Regions from separate parts of the Homo sapiens genome. Here region 2 is linked to region 1. The links are contacts of gene promoters, found by promoter capture Hi-C in blood cells and fetal thymus (Javierre and others, 2016). All regions are on one chromosome and are shown on one strand. The core of a region is centred on a gene start or on the middle of the fragment in contact, and the rest is flanking DNA. Distances in the headings are between cores, read along the strand shown. Region 1 holds the start of WASL (WASP like actin nucleation promoting factor). Region 2 overlaps CPED1 (cadherin like and PC-esterase domain containing 1).

The links. The method cuts DNA at HindIII sites, captures the fragments that hold promoters and counts their contacts. A CHiCAGO score of 5 or more calls a contact.
Region 2: a fragment that was not itself captured here is called in contact with the fragment with the promoter of WASL in region 1 in 1 of 17 cell types (M0 macrophages); the score reaches 9.9 in M0 macrophages.

What each region holds. Positions count from the first base shown.
Region 1 is chr7:123,747,547-123,750,710 of GRCh38, reverse strand. WASL (WASP like actin nucleation promoting factor) reads left to right here and starts at 1,708. Exons shown (of 11, transcript NM_003941.4): 1 at 1,708-2,093. The coding sequence starts at 1,977. WASL-DT (WASL divergent transcript) reads right to left here and starts at 1,516. Exons shown (of 1, transcript NR_170281.1): 1 at 1-1,516. RefSeq lists silencers at 1,426-1,745, 2,206-2,295 and enhancers at 1,324-1,978, 2,738-2,787. The HindIII fragment of the contact is 6,394 bases long and covers 1-3,164 here.
Region 2 is chr7:120,996,127-120,999,290 of GRCh38, reverse strand. All of the region lies in intron 2 of CPED1 (cadherin like and PC-esterase domain containing 1), which reads right to left. Among named protein-coding and RNA genes, the nearest start is that of CPED1, 9.0 kb to the right of the region's middle. The HindIII fragment of the contact is 1,081 bases long and covers 1,080-2,160 here.

The DNA of each region.
Region 1 (3,164 bases), core at 459-2,958:
ATCTAGTTGTAATTGTGTATTTTACAACTTTGAAGTAGGTGTAATTATCCCTATTTAGACTATACCTGTATGAAACAGAAATTATTTTCATTTTACAGATGAGGAAACAGACGCAGAGAAGTAATTTGTCCAAAGTCCATAGGGTTGTAAGACTCATAACAAGAACTACAACTTGGGCCTATCTGAATCTTATACTTCTGGTACTATACTTGTTCACAGGTTTGAAAAGAGCTTTAATTTCTATTATTTCTCAAGAATTTGTAATGCTTTCTCTTGTCACTGTGCTTTCAACTTAGAGGAGTTGCAGTTTTGATAAAAGACAAACTGATTTAGCTTCTAGGTTTGTTAAATATGTAATTCAGAGGCAACTCCAGGCTTATATTTCTACGACTGCTTTCTAAATCTAATTATTTTATAAATAGTCCTGTTGCTTTAATTCACTTTTTACCCTAACATAATTAATCAAGTTTAACTTTGAAATCTCCATATTTTATGTGAGAACTCCCAAGGCTATCCACTTTTATTTTCCTTTGTAAATTTATTGTTGCTCAGCCTATTTCATTAATGGCAGCTTTAATTATAATATTTTATTATATTTTCAAAGTGCATGATAATGGTTTACCAGTCTGGTTAGTACATCAGAGATTTCTATTGGGAGCTATCAGAGATGTTAACATCCAACAATTTTACCAAAGTGTAATTGTTATAGACGTCTTAACATGAATTTACGCAACAAAAATATGTTTAATGTGGAGAACAGTGAGATGCATATTTGATAATTCACTGCAGTCTGCATCATCATCTCTATATTCCAAAATTTCGTCTTAAGCCGTTTAGTATTTAACTTACAGAAGAAAGGGGGTTATCTTAGATAACTTTTAATATCCTAAGGTATTTTCCAATTCACGATACAGGGAGAAAAGAAATGTGTCCAGGCCCTTAGAAGAAAATACTTTGAATTTAAATGTGACACATACATTAAACCCGCGTGACACGCCAGGCAGGCGGTGGAAGTCAAGTGCATTTGTTTTTGTTTCATCCACCAGGGCGATCTCTTTCACAATTCTGGGAGAGGCCTGTTTGTTCCTCCACTCCCACAGCTGAAGTTTGGGACAAAGTTTGAGAAAATCCCAGGCACCTGCGGCTCCTATCGAAGCCGGCGAGGAGCACAGGGTAGAGCGTCTCTTCCCAGTTTTCAGTCTTCAGATCGCAGGCCTCTCGGACCCGCAGAGCGAGCTTCACGCTGCAGCGCTTGAGAAATAAGAGCTATTCCAAGGAGGGGCCCTGGGTCCTCACTGACGCTTCGCAAAGGTGTACGTCCGCCCAGGGAAGGCCGGCGGCGCAGCGACGGCGAGGAGTCCCCATCCATCTTCTCTTCAAGCAGCAGTAGCTGGGTTCGGGTACCCAACCGACGAGCCGAGACGCCAGAGGCCAGAGTACGAAGTTGGAAGCCTGCGCCCCAAGCCAACCGGGATTCCACTTAGCTCCGCGCGGTCCGCGCCTCGGCCGGAAGGGGGCGTGGCTTCGGGCCCGCGCCGCGAGGCCCGCCGCCGAGTGGGGGGGTTTCTCCCGGGCCGCAGCCGCGCGTTTCCGGCGCGCTCCCCCGCGCCCTCCGTCCTGTGGTCTCGCCCGCCCCCGCTGCCATGTTGGATTGTGCGGCCGCCGCCGCCGCTGCGGGAGGGTTGGGGGAGGAGTTGGGAGTTTAGCGCAGTCGCCGGAGTGCGAGGACAACGACCATCCGGCCCTAGCCTGGCCGGGCGGGTGCCGGGAGCTTCCCTTTCTCAGCGCGGCGCGAAGGTGGCTCGCCGTCAGCGCCTGCTTCCCTCGACCTCGTCCTCCTCCCCGCTCCGGAGGAGCTGCGAGATGTGGCGCCTCTGACTCCACTTCTCCCCGCCCCTGTCACCGAGAGGGGGAACGAGCTCTCGCCCACTCGCCGGAGGAGACGGCCCTGGACTCCCAACCCCGCCGGCGAAACCATGAGCTCCGTCCAGCAGCAGCCGCCGCCGCCGCGGAGGGTCACCAACGTGGGGTCCCTGTTGCTCACCCCGCAGGAGAACGAGTCCCTCTTCACTTTCCTCGGCAAGAAATGTGTGGTCAGTGGACGAGACCCGCGTCGCCACCCGTGACATTACCTCACGGGCCCGGGCTTGGGGGCCGGGAAGTGGGAGTGGGGAAGGAGGCGGGAGCGGCGCGGGCCAGGCCTCCCGCCAGCCCCGGCCCCGGCCCCGGCCCCTCGTCGGCGCCCTCGCCCTGCTCCCAGGGTGCGGGCCGTGGCGGTCGGGCGCCGCCTTCCCGAGCTGCTGGAGAATAAGGGAGTGTCACCTCCGCAGGCCTGTCCTCCAGCCTGGCCGGGCCTCGGCCCGCGCCCTTGCTGCTGGTTAAAACTTTATTCTCAGGCCACAAGGGGATTTTCTTGCAAGAGCCGCTTGGTCCTAGAATCTGGGCCCTTGTTCTAGCTCTCGCTTCACCTCTTACTGCTTGATCTGGGGGTACGTTCCTTAACAATGCCAGGTTTGAGGAGTGGATAGGTCGGGGAAGGAAGGTGGTTTTTAATCTCCCATTAGGATTCCAGGAGGGAATGAAGTCGAGTGCAAGAGCCTGGGCTCTCTTCGGATTAGAGAGGGTGCAAGAAATGTTATTGCTCTTCGTTAAAGAGAAACAAGATTTATTTCTCTAGCAACCTTGCCTAGGCCTGGTTTCTACTCTCCTTCCCACTGATTTTTTTTTTCCCCCCATTGGTGGGAGGGGGTGCTGCTCTCCCCGCAGCCATGCGCAGGGAAACCTCAATCTCTGGTAGCTCTTGGCTTTTGGGGCCGAGAATGATTCTTAGTTTGGTGCTGTGCGGCCAATTCCAACCCCAGATGGCCGGTTGGGAGCGAGCAGTTCTGCTGTGGGAAGGGGAATGTGTGTTGTTGACGGAAGCATTCATTACATTGGCTGCTGGCAATTCTGGGGGTGGGGAGGTTCTGCTCTGTGGTGTAGGCCTTGTCGGGATCATACTGCGGTGACTGGGTTGAAGTGTGGTTTGTTGAAATACTGGCTGGATCCCTTTCTCTCCACTTTGCTAGCACCTGCAGAGTATGTGCCACTGGAACCCAGAAAACACGGAAATTTCAACAAAGCAATACCATTTTATAACTCCTTTAAGTAATATTAGGTATGCC
Region 2 (3,164 bases), core at 371-2,870, 2.8 Mb after region 1:
AATGTAGAAGTGGCATGATGATTACCATTAGCCAGAAGTCCAAGAGATAGTACAGTAAAGAGATCAAGGGATACTTGTACAGGAAAAAGGAGAAGTGGAGGACTTTTGAGTTCAGCAAGAGAAAGAAAAGAGGGAGAAGGAGTTCCTCTCATATCTTGCCCTGCTCTAGAGTTGGCAAATTCAAATTCATCATTCATTTATTTATTCATTCATCGACTGAATATTTATTCAATGCTCACTATGTATCAGAGGCTGTTTTTACACTGGGGATGTAGCAGTAAGCCAATCAACTAAAGCATTTGATCTGAAGGAGCTTATATTCTGTGTAGAAAGACAATAAACCAATGAATAGATATGTTACTCAGGGTCCAAAATCTTAATCTCTTTCCTCCTATCTGCACTGAACTCACTCCTCCCCATCCCCAGCTATAACATGCTGTTCATCTCAGCATCTCAGACTTTAAAAAAAAAAAAAAGGATTCCACAAAACTGAAGACTTGCCTATAAATAAGCAAGTCTGACGTTGAGTGATATATCAGCCTCCTTAAGTTTGGTTTTGTTTCAAAAGATTCATTTTACTGTGAAAAGGCAACAGCTTAGAGGCTGGGGGATAGAGAGAGAAACTCAACAAAGCTTTCATCTCAGACATTTCTTATCCAAAGACTTATGTTGATTGCAGCAATTATTTATTGCTCACTGACTTTGTGAAGGCCAAATGTTAGGGTCTATAGGGTCCACAGAGAGGAGGGAGTCTTCAAGGAAATTAAATAATAATTATTTTCATAGTTAATATTTATTGAGTGCTTTCTATCTGCCAGACACTTTAAGTGCTTCATGTGATTTATCTCATTTAAGGATCATGTTAGCCTGGGGAGTTGGTGATAATATATCCATATTCAGGTAAGGAAACTAAATCCTAGAGAGGTCAAGAAATGTGCCCAAGGTAACAAGTTAATAAATGGTATTAATTTGAATGCAGTGTTCATGTACTTAACTATTCTGCCTTCCCAAATTTATTAGTTTCCTAGAGCTGCTGTAACAAAGTATTCGAAGCTGGATAGTTTAAAACAAGAGAAGCTTGCTTACTAAATCTCGTAATTCTGGAGGCTAGAAGCCTGAAATAACAGTGTCAGCAGTTCCTCTGAAACTTGTGGTGGAATCCTTCCTTGACTGTCGAGTTTCCGGGGGTTTGCCGCAATCTTTGGTGTCCTTCAGTGTGCAGCTGCATGACTCCAATCTCTGCCTTCAACATTACATGGCATTCTCCCTGTGTGTCTCTGTCTTCCTATGCTGTCCTCTTCTTTTTATTTTTTATTTTATTTTATTTTATTTTATTTTATTTTATTTTATTTTATTTTATTTTTTTTCGAGACCGAGTTTTGCTCTTGTTACCCAGGCTGGAGTGCAGTGGCACAATCTCAGCTCACTGCAACCTCTGCCTCCTGGGTTCAAGTGATTCTCTTGTCTCAGTCTACTGAGTAGCTGGAATTACAGGTGCCCGCCACCATGCCCAGCTAGTTTTTTGTATTTTTAGTAAAGACAGGGTTTCACCATGTTGGCCAGGCTGGTCTCAAACTCCTGACCTCAGGTGATCCACCCACCTTGGCCTTCCAAAGTGCTGGGATTGCAGGTGTGAGCCACCACGCCCCATCTACTGCCTTCCTATAACACCAGTCATATTGGATTAGGGGCCACCTTACTCCAGTGTGACCTCATCCTAACTAATTATATCTGCGATAACCCTATTTCCAAGTAAGGTCACATTCTGAGGTACTGGAGTTTAGGGCTTCAACATATCTTTTCAGGGATGGGGTACACAATTTAACCCATAATACCAATGAATGGAGTTAGCATATGGGGCTATAATAAAATAGAAAGGACATAGGTCTCAGTCCAGTCCTGTCCACACTATCAACTTGTTATGTTACTTTGAGAGAGCCACTTTCTTTCTGTGACCTTCTTTCTCTTCACTTAAAAAAGAAAGATGTTGAACTTAATCATCTCTAACTTATTTGCAGTTCTAACATTCTAATGTTCCTTCATTTATAAATAGTTACAATGAAACATAAGTTTTATTAGGGATGTTTAAGCACACATCCACTTATGGAGATAAGGGCTGCTATAATGAAGGAAGTGAAACTCCATAGGTTCTCAAAAGCTTTAAGAATGATCATGAAGATTTCTAGAGGTATTGAGTAGAGCAGGCTCCCTGGAGGAGACTCCTGACAGAAGGAGAGATGTGGGAGTTTAGAAAATAGGCAGGCTGTTGGGTGGATTATGGATTATGGATTACACATAGAGACAGGGTAGAGATAAGGCTGGAAAAGTATGTTGGAACATGCCAGGATCAGTGTGGTTTCTACTCAATTGAGTGCGCTCAACGTTACAACTCCTGAAAGCTTTCAGCAGAGGTATTAATGGGACCTGTGCACAGACTGCCTAGAATATGCAGGCAGATGGAGGGGTAACTGGTTAAACCACTGAATGAGTCTAGGTTAGTGACAACAAGGACACAGCATTGAGATTGTGAAGATAGATGCTAAGATTTTGGAATCTGATGAACTCTTATCTGAATTAATTTGGAGGACTAGAGAAAATTCCACTTTACATAGCCATAAGGGCTGTGCTCATGTGATATTTACTAAAATTATAATAGTATAATAAAGGGCTAAATGCACAGCATGGTCCCAGAGAGAAATTAGAAGTTAGAGCTAAAAAAGGAGCACCATGTCTACAGGCAATATATAAACCACAAGGAGGAAATCCAGATCTGGGCCAGATGCCAAGGAGAAGAGGAAGCAACATGCAAGCTGGTTGAGACTAATGTTTCTGAATAAGGGCTGTGAACAAGGCAAGAATATTTTGGACTTTGCACAACAATGTAAATATGATTAATACTACTTAACTGTATACTCACAAATGGTTAAGAGGTTAAATTTTATAATATGTGGGGTTTTTTTACCTCTATTAAAAATTTCTAAGGATAATTCCCTTTTCTTTTTTTTTTGAGACAGGAGCTTGCTCTGTCACCTAGGCTGGAGTGCAGAGGCATGATCACAGGTCACTGCAGCCTTGACATCCCTGGCTCAAGCAATCCTCCCACCTTGGCCTCTCGAGTAGCTGGGGGGCTCCAGGCACATGCCATCAATCCCAGCTAATTTTTT